2 separate regions of the Homo sapiens genome follow, and region 1 is linked to region 2. Evidence: promoter capture Hi-C in human tissues and cell types (Jung and others, 2019). All regions are on one chromosome and are shown on one strand. Each heading gives the region's core, a stretch centred on a gene start or on the middle of the fragment in contact. The rest is flanking DNA. Distances are from core to core; before and after follow the strand shown. Region 1 has its middle 17 kb from the start of ZNF597. Region 2 holds the start of ZNF200 (zinc finger protein 200).

Region 1 (7,043 bases), core at 3,000-5,499, 190 kb after region 2:
GCACCACTGCACTCCAGCTGGGTGAGACAGAGCAAGACTCTGTCTCAAAAACAAAAAACAAAAACAACAACAAACAAAACATAAAATAAAAAATAAGGAAAGATTTACTATTGATATTTTGTTACTTATTTCTGTTAGTCTTATAGTCCTTCTGTCCCTTTCTCTTGCTGTTTTCTTTTGTATTTCACTGTTTTTTTTTTTTTTTTTTTTTTGAGATGGAGTCTTGCTCTGTCACCCAGGCTGGAGGGCAATGGCACAATCTCGGCTCACTGCAACCTTCGCCTTCTGGTTCAAGCAATTCTCCTGCCTCAGCCTTCCAAGTAGCTGGGATTACAAGTGTGCAGCACCACACCTGGCTAATTTTTCTATTTTTAGTAGAGATGGGGTTTTGCCATGTTGGACAGGCTAGTCTCGAACTCCTGGCCTATGTTTTCATTATTTTCTCCTTTTCTTTAATTCTATAGGCATTTTCTTTGTAGTTACCAAGTGTTTACATAAAATCTCTTATAATAGTCTACTTTAAGCTGATAACAACTTAACTTCCCTTGCATGTCAGAACTTTGCTTTTATCTCTCTTCCCCTGGCTTATATGCTATTGATATCACCACTAACACCTATTTATATTGTACCAATTAACATAATATAGTTGTTTTACTACTTTTGTCTTTTAACTTTTATAAGAGAACTAAAATTGATTTACCCACTACTGTTATAGTAATACACTATTGGTTTTGACTATATATTTACCTTTGCCAATGAGTTTCATACTTCGTGTGCTCCTGTTACTGTTTTCCATACTTTTGTTTTAACCTTAAGAACTCTCTTTAGCATTTCTTATAAGGCAGGTCTAGTGGTGATAATCTCCCTCAGCTTTTGTTTGAGAAAGTCTTTATTTCCCTCTCATTTTTGAAGTATGGGTTTGTTGGATATAGCATTCTTGACTGGAAGTTTTTTTCTTTCAGCACTTTGTATCTATTGTCCCACTCCTTTCTGGCCCACAAGGTTTATGCTGGAAACTCTGTTAATAGTTTTATTAGGGGACCCTTGTACACAGAAGTTGCTTTTCCCTTGGCTGCTTTCAAAATTCTGTCTCTAACTTTTGACAATTTGATTGTAATGTATGTCAGTGTGGATCTCTTTGGATTCATCTTATTTTTTTTTTTTTTGAGACAGTCTCGCTCTGTCGCTCAGGCTGGAGTGCTATGGCATGATCTAGGCTCACTGCAACCTCCACCTCCCAGGTTCAAGCCATTCTCCTGCCTCAGCCTCCTGAGTAGCTGGCATTACAGGCACATGCCACCGCGCGCGGCTAATTTTTATATTTTTAGCAGAGACGGGGTTTCACCATGTTGGCCAGGCTGGTCTCGAACTCCTGACCTCAAGTGATCCACCTGCCTCGGCCTCCCAAAGGGCTGGGATTACAGGCATGAGCCACCGCACCTGGCAGGATTCATCTTATTTCATGTCCCTTGGACTTCTTGGGTCTTGATTTCTATTTCATTCCCCAGTTTTGGAAGGGTTTCAGCCACTGTTTGTTTGAATATGCTTTCTGTCCGTTTTGCTCTCTCTGCCTTCTGAAAATCCACTAATGCATACATTAGTCTACTCGATGGTGTCCCTTAAGTACCTTAATCTATCCTCACTCTTTCTTTTTTTCTCATTTTTGCCCCTCTGGTTGGATAATTTCCAATGGCTGGTCTTCAAATTCACTGACTCTTTTTTCTGCTTGACCTAGTCTGTGAGTGAAACCCTCTAGAGAATTTTTCAGATGAGTTATTATGTACTTCAGATCTATAACTTCTGTTTGGTATGTTTTTAAATTTTCTCCTTTTTCTGAGACAGGGTCTCACTCAGTCACCCAGGCTGGAGTGCAGTGGTGTGATAACAGCTCACTGCAGCCTTGGCATCCCAGGCTGAAGTGATCCTCCCACCTCAGCCCCCAGAGGAGCTGGGACCACAGGCGTATGCCACCATGCCAGGCTAATTTTTAATTTTTTGTAGACATGGGGTCTTACTATGTAAACCAGGCTGGTCTTGAACTCCTAACCTCAAGCAATCCTCCCACCTTGGCCTCCCAAAGTGCTGGGATGACAGTGTGAGCCACCATGCCAACCCTTGTTTTTGTATTTTCTCTTTGTTGAAAGTCTCGGTTTGTTCATACATTATACTCCTGACATCAGTGAGCATATTTATGATTATTTTTAATTCTCTTTTTTTTTTTTTGAGAGGACGTTTTGCTCTGTTGCCTAGGCTGGAGTGCAATGACACGATCTTGGTTCACTGCAACCTCCACCTCCCAGGTTCAAGCGATTCTCCTGTCTCAGCCTTCCGAGTAGCTGGGATTACAGGTGCCCGCCACCACGCCTGGCTGATTTCTGTATTTTTAGTAGAGATGAGGTTTCACCATGTTGGCCAGGCTAGTCTCGAACATCTGACCTCAGGTGATCCACCCGCCTCGGTCTCCCACAGTGCTAGGATTACAGGCATGAGCCACTGCACCCAGCCTATTTTTAATTCTCTAATAGGTAAAATCACTGATCTGTATTTCATTGGAATTGGTTTCTGGAGATTTCTTCATCTTTTGTTTGGAACGTATTTTCTATTTCTTGATTTTTTTGTTGACTGTGTTGATTTTCATGCATTAGATAAGACAACTCTCTTTCCAAGTCTTAATATCTGATTTTTCGTAGGAGATGAACCTCACCAATCAACCCAACCAGATTCTAGGCACCTCTCAAACTTTTGTGCTTGTACAAACTGCTGTCTTTGTTCTTAGTAGCCCCAAGAGATTGGGGTGCACCAAATGCCATCAGTGCCCCAAGACTGGTGATATTGAAGCCAGTTACTGAAATTTAGCTAGAAAAGTTGGGGTGTTATATGTGTTCCAGTTCCTTCTATCCTCAAGGAGAAGCTGGGAACTGGTGTTGATCTCCCACTTGCCCTGTACTAAGCTGGGGAGATAATCCCAAGCAAATGCCTGCATTCTCATTCAGACCACATACTCTTTCAACCCATTGCCTAATGTGTTGTTACCCCCAGGGGCCTAGTCAATTGCAGCTCCCATCTACTGTCCAGGACAGATGGATTGTTCAGAGGCTTGGCTCCATCTCTAGAGTGAGCCTGCAAAAGGAATTGCGGGAAGCAACTGCATGCCCATTCAGGCTCCCAGAGGACTACTTATTGCCTGCCCTGTCAGTGCCCAGATATAGGCTAGAGGCCTGACTCATGGACAGCGGCTGGGAAAGTTGGGACGTTAGGTGTGCAGTCAAACCCCTTCCTGGGGGTAAACTGGGAACTGGGTGTTTTTGTCTGCTCGCTTTGTACTGAGTTAGGGGAAACGGATGCTAGAACTGCTCAAACACTCTTTTAAAATCACTTTTCTTCTCTGTAGTCTAGGGGGACTTGTGAATGCAGTCTTATCAATTCCCAGAGACAGATGATTTAGGAGCTTAGAAGCTGGTCCCTTGGGTGGAAGCTGTAAAAGTTGGGGTACACTGTCCAGGAAGAAGCTAGAAGCCTAGTTTTTTTTTGTTTTGTTGTTTTATTTTTGAGACAGAGTCTCACTCTGTCACCCAGGCAGAAGTAGAGTGGCACAATCTCAGCTCACTGCCACCTCTGCCTCCTGAGTTCAAGCCATTCTCCTGCCTCAGCCTCCGGAGTAGCTGGGATTACAGGTGCACCTCCCTGACAACCCCCAACCATGCCCAGGTAACTTTTTGTATTTTTTAACAGAGAGAGGGTTTCACCATGTTGACCAGGCTGGTCTTGAACTCCTGACCTCCACTGATCCACCTGCCTTGGCCACCCAAAGTGCTGGGATTACAGGGGTGAGCCACCGTGCCTGGCCCCTAGTTTTATCTCTGAATGGAGTAGTGGCAGAGGGGAGAACGACAGTGAAGTTCCCACATGCCTGTTCATGCTCCTGGAGGTCTATTGTTTACCAGCCCTATCAGCTACTCGATGTAGGCTACTTAGAAGCCCAGCGTTCAGGCAGCAGTTGGGAAAAATGTGTAGATAAATCCCTTTTAGGGAGACTGTGGAACTGCTTTTTTAAATTCTTTTGTTTCTTTTCTTTTTTTTTAGAGACAGGGTCTCACTCTGCCACCTAGGCTGTAACGCAGTGGCTCCATCATAGCTCAGTGCAACCCTGAATCTTGGGCTCAAGCGATCATCCTGCCTCAGCATCCTGAGTAGCTAGGACTATAGGCATATGTCACCACACCTGGCTAATTAAAAAAAATTTTTTTTTGTTTTGGTAGAGGCAGGGTGTTTGTATGTTCCCCAGGCTGTTTTCAAACTCCTGGCCTCAAGTGATCCTCTGCCTCAGCATCTCAAAGCACTGGGATTACAGGCATGAGCCATGGTGCCCAGCAGATGGTGCATTTCTGCCTGCTTGCTCTGCACTGACCCTGGGGGACAGCCGCTGAAAGTGCTCACATACCTGTTTAAAATGTCCTCTTATGGCTGGGCATGGTGGCTCACACCTGTAATCCCAGCACTTTGGGAGGCTGAGGCGGGTGGATCACAAGATCAGGAGATCGAGACCATCCTAACACTGTGAAACCCCATCTCTACTAAAAATACAAAAAATTAGCCAGGCATGGTGGCAAGTGCCTGTAGTCCCAGCTACTCGAGAGGCTGAGGCAGGAGAATCGCTTGAACCCAGGAGGCAGAGGTTGCAGTGAGTTGAGATTGCGCCACTGCACTCCAACCTGGGCAACAGAGAGAGACTCTGTCTCAAAAAAAACAAACAAACAAAAAAAAAAAACCCCACAAAATTAGCTGGGCATGGTGGTGTGCGCCTGTAATCCCGCCTACTCTATAGCCTAAGGCAGGAGAATCGCTTGAGCCCAGGAGGCGGAAGTTGCAGTAAGCCAATATTGTGCCATTGCACTACAACCTGGGTGAAAAAAGCAAAACTCTGTCTCTAAATAAATAAATAAATAAATAAATAAATAAAATGTCCTTTTTTCTCAGGGGACTCACAAATACTAAACCCTGCCATTCCCGGGATAAGAAGATTTAGGAGCCAAACTCTCACGTGGAAACTGTTTAAGTTTGGGAGCGATATGTCTGGCCTCAACCCTTCATTCTTCAAAAATCTGGTATTTCGGGATTCCTTCCCAATTGTAAGATACTGTGCCCAGGTTTTTGGTTTACATTGTGTCTCAATTTGTTGGTATCCATTTTGATGTGGATATATTATCAGTTGCCAGTGTGTGGGAGTCTCAACTAGTTTCTATATTTCTCTCAGAGAGAACTGATCCATGTGTAGATACTTATTCAGTGCATCCATGGAAGGAAAGAAAGTCAGGAGTCTCCCATTCTGTATCTTGTTGATGCCCAATCAGTGAAATGAAACTTTTTTTTTGGGCAGGGAGGGAGTTCTCATTCTGTCACCCAGGGTGAGTACGGTGGAACAATCACAGCTCACTACAGCCTCCACCCAGGCTCAAGTGATCCTATCACCTTAGCCTCCTGAGTAGCTGGGACTACAGGCATGTGCCACTACGCCCGGCTTTTTTTTTTTTTTTTTCAGACAGAGTCTCCCTTTGTCCCCCAGGCTGGAGTGCAGTGGCGCGATCTTGGCTCACTGCAACCTCCACCTCCTGGGTTCAAGCAATTCTCCTGTGTCAGCCTCCCAAGTAGCTGGGACTACAGGTGCGTGCCACCATGACCAGCTATTTTTGTTTTGTATTTTTAGTAGAGATGGGGTTTCACCATGTTGGCCAGGATGGTCTCAATCTCTTGACCCCGTGATCTGCCTGCCTTGGTCTCCCAAAGGGCTGGGATTACAGGCGTGAGCCACTGTGCCCGGCCTAATTTTTAAATTTTTGGTAGAGATGGGTCTTATTATGTTGCCCAGGCTGGTCTGGAACTTCTGGCCTCAAGTAATCCTCCTGCCTTGACCTCCCAAAGTGCTGGGATTACAGGTGTGAGCCACTGCACCGGCCATCTTTGCTAAATTATTACCTTCAAGCCTATAAGGTATCATTATATATTTATCCTGGAAGCTTTCTTAGTTTTTTTCTAAACTCCTTACAGCTTCTTTGGGTACACTGTTACACCTCTTGCCTACTAGTAAGTGACAGCACCAGTATCTATTCTCCTTTCTTTTTTTTTTTTTTTTTGACAAAGTCTCACTCTGTTGCCCAGGCTGGAGTGCAGTGGCACAATCTCGGCTCACTGCAACTTCCGCCTCCTGGGTTCAAGCGATTCTCCTGCCTCAGCCTCCCAACTAGCTGCGACTACAGATGCGCACCACCATGCCCGGCTAATTTTTGTATTTTTTTTAGTAGAGATGGGGTTTCACCATATTGGCCAGGCTGGTCTCGAACTCCTGACCTCGTAATCTGCCCACCTCGGCCTCCCAAAGTGCTGGGATCACAGGCATGAGCCACTGCACCCGGCCCTCTGTCAGTCTTTAAGCTGAAACCAATGGTATAAAAGTGACAGAGCCGTAGTAGTTTCAATCAGTGCATAATTTTAAGCATCTACCATGTTCCTGGTCTCTCCTCCCATGGAGACAATGAAATTTTATTAGTTACATAATTAATATTCAATTACAAGCATATTGCTATAAGGAGGGTAAAACAAAGAATGTAGGAATTGAAAGGGATGTTCCAAGTAAAAGGAAAAGTATGTGCACAATTCTCAAAGAGCTTGGTATGTTTGATGAATTGAGAGAAAGTGTAGCTGGAGAGGGGTAAGAGAAAAAGAACAGCTGGAGTTGACACTGGCAGGGAAGTAATGACTAGGAAGGTCATGTTGAAAATTTAAATGTCCCTAAGGACAATGGGAAGCCAATGGAAGGTGTCAAATTGGATGATGAAATCATCATAATCATCTGGTACCTGGCCCTCTAGTTCTGTGCAGCAAAGACTGGAAAGATGAACATCTAGTGTTGTCTTCCCGCAATAATGCTGGAATTTTCTGCTGAGTTTCAGGGAGCAAACATTTTTTAATACTTCTTTTATTAAATGGCAGTGTGTTAGCTGTGTTGACAGAGAACAAGTGTGATATGAAAGTCATCAGCGGGCTCT
Region 2 (6,701 bases), core at 2,639-5,138:
GATCTTTTTATCCTTTTCTCTAAAATAAAGAAGATATCACATAGAGCAACCTGCGGGAAATTAACTACACTCATTACATACCAATACTTCTGACCATACGGTATAATTACAGCTAAGAGTTTGACAGTCATAATGGATTTCTGTCACCCCAGGCAACTTCTAAAACCTATTCTCTGTACAACTTCACCCTCAGAAACAAAAAGCCCTGAAGGCAAAGTAAAAAGTGTCCGGCACTCAGTAAAGACATTTGTGCGGGCCTCTGCCTCTAGGGTTGCAACATTTCTAGAGAAAAGGTAAAGCATCTCTAAGCAAATTATAGAGAGGCTGCTGCTTGATCAGTTCATACACAGCACTGGGGGACACTTGTCAACTATTACTGGGAAATGAGGACAAATAAAGAATGCCCCATTCACCAACCATACACGGAATTCATTGACAAAATTATGAGAAATGCATCTAGGAGACAGTACAGCCCTGGGCCATTACTGCAAATTCTGATGTCAGATTCCCTGAGTCCGAATCCCTGTTCCCCTACTTACAACTGTGTGAACTTTAGCAAATTTTGTAACCCCTCTCTGCCTCAGTTCTGTCACCTGTAAGGTGGCAGTAATTTCTATACCACTCAGTATTACTCTGAGAAGTACATGAGAGAATAAACACATGAAAAGCATTTGGACTAGTGCCTAGCATGTAACAGCATATAAGTGCTCATTAAGTGTTAAACATTACTTTCACCAATAGTGGAATATATTTTCACTTAGGCTAGTAGTCTTCACATCTATTGAACATCAAAAAGGGGAGGGGGATTACAAGAGTTAGTCATGTGTTCAATGAAAACATTCAAATATACCTGTTGAGAACAGAGTTCAGAAAATGGGTTCAGAACAGTTTCTATATCCACAGTTTCTATGTCTGCAGGTTTTCCCTACCTCTCCCCTCACTGCCCCCAAGATACAGGGAAAAATGGCCACCCACCCACAGCTGGAGTTCTGTGGCAAGGCTCTGCTACATTGAATAAAACAAAAGTAAAATAAAATGTGTGTGTGCACATAGGCTTACCAGGTGTGAATCGTCCCCCAAAGCTAAAGAGATGAAGGACATGCTTTTCCCAAAGCAAACAACCTGAACACACAAAGGCTGTGATTTCTTACCCAGTAACATCATTTCCCCGACACTGCTGTCATCTTCCTTCTCTGACGTGAGTTGTTGAGTAGGATCCAAGCTCACACATTCTTCCTGGCAGTGAAATACATTCAAATCCTCAAAGACCACCAGCTCCTGAAAGAGCAAGAGGCCCCTTTCATCTTAGTAACTGAGGTTCACTGACAGCCCTACTGGTAAGAAAAGCTGACACACAAAGATCAAGGGAAGGGATAGCAAGAGGGACCTATAAATCCCACAGAGGTGCAGCAAAGACAGGACAGCCAGGCTGAGAAGGGCTCAAGGAAAAAGCAGAAGAAAAACACCCAAGAAGGCCAACTCCTAAGAATGTGTTTTTACACACAGGTTGGCCAAGCACGGAAGGTGATGGATTCAGGCAGTAAATGGGAAAACCAAACCCACCTCAGGGTTAGCTTTCAAATACAGAGACACTGTCTCTTGTTCCTTTTGGACTCCTTTGGGCAGAAGCTTCACCAAGGGACGAGGATGCACTGGGGAAAGAGGAAGGTTTAGTTAGTGAAAAACTCAGTGACTCTAACACAGAGACTCCCCATACCGCGAGGCCAGGCTGTCCTCATTCCTTTGACAGGTAACTCATGGCCTTTTCTGCTCCTGTGAGCCCTTATAGAGTTCAAGCCATAAACTCTAGGGTCTTGAACCTATGGCATCTCCCTGTTATGAAAAGAATGACTTCTCTAAGCACCTTTCAGAATTTCCCATAGAGTATTACTAAAGGAGAGCTTAGGGCAACGTAAAGTGTGAAGATGCCCAGAAAAAGCACAAAATTTCTAAAATTCCACATCAACCTAACTCAATAATTCATCTGATTTATCCTTAAAAGATATTTCCCTCAGAATGTTTGGGTAAAACTGACACTACAGAAAGATGCACACTGTTTATTCTGTGGCCTTACTCACACCCAGCACTTGAGAAGAACTTCCTCTTTCCAACACTAGAATTGACTCCTTTTCCAATATACACCATCCTAACTTGAATTTATAACTAACACAGAAACCTATCTTAGACTCCAGTACCTCCTCCTCCTCTTCTAGTGAAACAAGCATGTGCTTCTCACCTCTGTTCTGAAGGCTTGAGCTCACATCTTTCATAATAACCAAGGTCTCCTTGACTTTCTGACTGGGCTGGACCAGGCTTGGCTTGGGCAAGAAGGTGAGGAAGTGCTCCAGCACTAGCTGGTGGATGGTCTTGGGCCCGTTAGTGGCATCTCGAAGTAGGTCTTGGCCCAGCTTGGAGTCTGGCGGAACTCTCAGTATAAAGGACTGCTTTGGCTTTGGGGGCATAGGAACCACTTTTGCAGCCATCATGCCTTGCAACCACACACCACACTCGTTTCGCGGGGCCTCCAGAGCCACCTCTTACTAGAGGAAATCTGCCAGAGAGCCAAGCTGTAGACAGAGAAACCAGGGATTACCCAAAAGACCAGGCACGGCATTACTGCACTCCAATATGTGGCATGGCTGGTGAGGCTACATGAGATCTAAAGAAAACGACAGCTGGGATAGGGAAATCATAACTGAAACGCAGTATTTGAACAAGATATGCTTAGGAAGATGTGAAAGGAAGATCCTGAGAATGAAAAACAGAGACTGTGCAAACCTCAAGTCCAAAGGGAAGGGAGTAAGGGTGGAGCGGAGAAGGCCAAGGTCCAGCCTCCTGAGAAATACAAAGTGTGGCCAGGTACCGGTGGCTCACACCTGTAATCCCAGCACTTTGGAAGGCCCTGGCGGGTGGATCGCTTGAGTCCAGGAGTTCAAGACCAGCCTGGGCAACACAGCAAGACACCGACTCCATAAAAAAAAAAAAAATTAGCTGGGCGTGGCGACACAAGCCTGTGGTCCCAGCTACTGGGGAGCTGGGAGGATTGCTTGTGCCCAGGAGGTCGAGGCTGCAGTGAACTGTGATCGCGCCACTGCACTGCAGTCTGAGCGACAAAGCAAGACCCTGACTCTAAAAAAAGAAAGGAAAAGAGAAAGGAAAGAAGGAGGAAGGGAATCAGGGAAGAGAAAGAAAATAAAAGGAAAAAGAAAGAAAAGACAGAAAGAAAGACGGTGTGTAAAACCCACCAGGAATAGGTTAAATCAGGCTTGGAGAAAGAGCAATGGGCTAGAAGACAGGAAATCTGGGGTCAATACCGAGGACATCTGCCTAAAAGCAGGTTGGTCACTGAATCTGGCCATACTGTACCCCTCGAACCGAAGCTCCCTCCGGTGCCCTTTGGGCGGGGAGGCGGTTGGTGACTCTCCCGGGGAGCAGATGCAAGGCCGAGGAGGTGTCCACACACCGCCTGCCGACTCCTCTCCGCCGTCAAAGCTCTGCTGAGAGCGGCAGGCGACATCCCACTAAGGACCGCCGGGCCAGGCTCACTCTGGGGCCTCTTCCGCTGGTCAAGGAACACCTTTACCGTAAAGCTCAGCGTGCGCCCCTGCCTGAGGCGCTCACCAGGCTCCCTACCCGGCCTTGCTCCCTCAGCAACGGACACGCTCCGCTCCCCAGAGGCGGCCTCAGCCTGGTTCCCGCCCTCACGGAGCCCCTCACCTCTCGGGGCCTCTGCAGCCCCTGAGCGTTTGCTGGGGACGGCTCAGAGACTCAGGCTCCGGGAGAGATAGAAAAACTAGGCGCGAGCGGTCGAGCCCTCCCCTCGCCCTTCCGAGTGCCCTCACAGGTCGCCGGCGACTATTCGTTCGCGCCGCCGCCAGTTGAGGAGAACGGCAGGGACTCGGTGCCTTCTGGGAAGTCGGGCGCTCTGCGGCTGTGACGTCACAACCGGTGCCTTGTTTCCGGTGCAGAAGCCTGGTCTCCCCGTTCGGAGCCGGCAGTCTGCGCTTGAGACGTTAAGACTTGAGACAGGCCAGAGGAGCTCTCAGGGCCGGAGGGAGGCCAGGACGGCTGTAGCCTCTCTGTGGTTCTGCCTGGAAGACGGAAGGCAGGTGGTTGGCTCTAGTCATCCACGACGGGCTGGCACCTCTCCAGCTGCGGCCAGTCTAACCCCAGGGCCTGCTGGGAAATGTAGTTCGAATGCAAACAACCAATGGACGACCGTCAGGCGCGGCGGTTGGGGCGGGGCAGGCCCCCCCACCGCCCCACCCCCCGCCCACCCAGCGCCCGCGCTCCCCCCACCCCCCACCCCGCCACCCCCCTACCCCGCCACTCCCCCACCGCCCTACTCTCCCCACCCCCCACCCCCCTACTCTCCCCACCCCCCACCCCCCACCCCGCCACCCCCCACGGCGCCACCCCCCAACCCCCACCCCCCTACTCTCCCCACCCCCCTACTCTCCCCACCCCCCTACTCTCCCCACCCCCTACTCTCCCCACCCCCCTACTCTCCCCACCCCCCCACCCCCTACTCTCCCCACCCCCCTACTCTCCCCACCCCCCTACTCTCCCCACCCCCCCACCCCCTACCCTCCCCACCCCCCCACCCCCCTACCCTCCCCACCCCCCTACCCTCCCCACCCCCCTACCCTCCCCACCCCCCTACCCCGAGGCTTAAAGGAAGCAAGCTATCTCTCCGACCGGAAAATCAAGACGCCTCCGCGGTTTCCGCCTTTTACTGCGGTTCTCCAGTAAAAAGACTGCGGAGGCGGACAGGGTGTGGCCGCCATGGGACTCCGCCCCCGCTCTGGTGACTCCCATAGGTTAGAGATGGGGCACCGACATTGCCCACTCCAGCTTGCTAACTTCTACACTGCTGTCCGCACCGGCCGTCTTGTTTTTAAAGACATCTTAATTGCCCTTCTCCTACTGTCTCGGTTTCCTTTCTCAATTTCAGCTTCCTACGGAGGCCGAACAGAGTTTTGTGTTTGTGCGTTGTATCCACACTCGGTTCGTTCCCCAGTGACGCACTGATCAGGGTTCGGACAACTTGTGGGCAGGGATGGCCTTATTTCTCGATGTAATACCAGCCTCCAGAAAGTTGACAAAAGTAAAAATATAAATGAATGCCTCTTCTTAAAGTTAATTATACCTGACTAATGGCTGACGATGGCTTAAAATATGTTACAAAGAAACGAGTATGAAAACTGTGTGGCACCAAGACATTCTAGAAAAATAAGGAATATCTGCCTTTTCAGATCAAAATTTACTAAAAAGCCTCCGTTAATCAAAGCATTATGGTTTGAATTATGAGGCAAAACAGATAACTGAGATGTCTTGAAGTAAAATATAAACCTGTGTGATTGTATTTTTTAAGAACTTTTTCTTGACTCTGTTAACAAACAAGAAATAGACTGGAAGATAATTGTAAAGATTAGCTACACAAAAGATTATACATTCCTAAGACAAAATGAACCCCTGCCAACTGACAAAAAGCAAAGGCAATGAGGAGCTCTTCCCGAGAGGAGGAAAACTAATTGGTCATTAACATTTAAAAAGATGCTTAACCACACTACTAGTCAAGATTATCACTTTTAAAGGGAACCACATTTTTCACCTATCAAACAATGAAGGTGGAGAAATAGGCACTCCTTTCGCTGGTAGTGTGGTGTGTGAAGTCATCTTGTAATATATATTAAAATTAAAAGTACAAGTATGTACCCTTTGACCTTCACAATCTCATCTGTGAATCTGATGTCTACAAATTTCTTGTAGAATTCTTTGTAGTGACAAAAACTAGAAATGACATGCATGTTCATACGTAAGGAAAGGAGTAAATTGGTGCATTCATACTCTGGAAATTACCCAGCTATGAAAAAGAATGGATTGGAACTATATGTACACCTGGAGGGATGGCCATAAAATATTACATGAAAAAGTTTCAGAGCTACATATATTATGCATAATTATATTTTTGGAACAAACAAAACACCTTGTGTATGTTTGTGTTGAGGGATACACAATAGATTATTAAAATGGTTACTCATGGGATGGCCAGGCGCAGTGGCTCATGCCTGTAATCCCAGCACTTTGGGAAGCCAGAGGTGGGCTGATCACTGGAGGTTAGGAGTTCAAGACCAGCCTGGCCAACATGGGGAAACCCCATCTGTACTAAAAATACAAAAATTAGCCGGGCGTGGTGGCGGGTGCCTGTAATCTCATCTACTTGGGAGGAGGCTGAAGCACAAGAATTGCTTGAACCCAGGAGGTGGAGGTGGACGTTACAGTGAGCCAAGATCGCACCACTGCACTCCAGCCTGAGTGACAGGCACACCAGCCTGGGCGACAGAGTAGTAAGACTCTGTCTCTAAATAAATACGTAAAATAAAAATAAAATGGTTACTCAGAGGGAGGGAATGGAAATGGAGAAAAGGGAGAGATTACACTTTTTTTTTATTGTGTCACTTCATTTAATGAGCACGTCAATTTGGTAACTAAAAATAATAAAACCTTAAAAAAAAATAGAACAATAGGCCGGGCATGGTGGCTCATCCCAGCACTTTTGGAGGCTGAGGTGGGCAGATCATCTGAGGTCAGGAGTTCGAGAGCAGCCTAACATAGTGAAACCCGTCTCTACTAAAAAATACAAAATTAGCCGGGCGTGGTGATGCATGCCTATAATCCCAGCTACTCAGGAGGCTGAG

What was found. Contacts are between HindIII fragments. The study calls those that stand out against the background at their distance.
Region 1: a contact is called between a fragment that was not itself captured here and the fragment with the promoter of ZNF200 in region 2, in 2 of the 25 tissues and cell types used here (IMR-90 fibroblasts and small bowel).

The regions. Positions count from the first base shown.
Region 1 is chr16:3,423,453-3,430,495 of GRCh38, forward strand. No RefSeq gene overlaps it. Among named protein-coding and RNA genes, the nearest start is that of ZNF597, 17 kb to the right of the region's middle. The HindIII fragment of the contact is 6,189 bases long and covers 1,156-7,043 here.
Region 2 is chr16:3,231,270-3,237,970 of GRCh38, forward strand. ZNF200 (zinc finger protein 200) reads right to left here and starts at 3,889. Exons shown (of 5, transcript NM_198088.3): 1 at 3,718-3,889; 2 at 2,237-2,567; 3 at 1,564-1,652; 4 at 1,152-1,278. The coding sequence starts at 2,486. RefSeq lists enhancers at 3,928-3,987, 3,998-4,207. The HindIII fragment of the contact is 11,744 bases long and covers 724-6,701 here.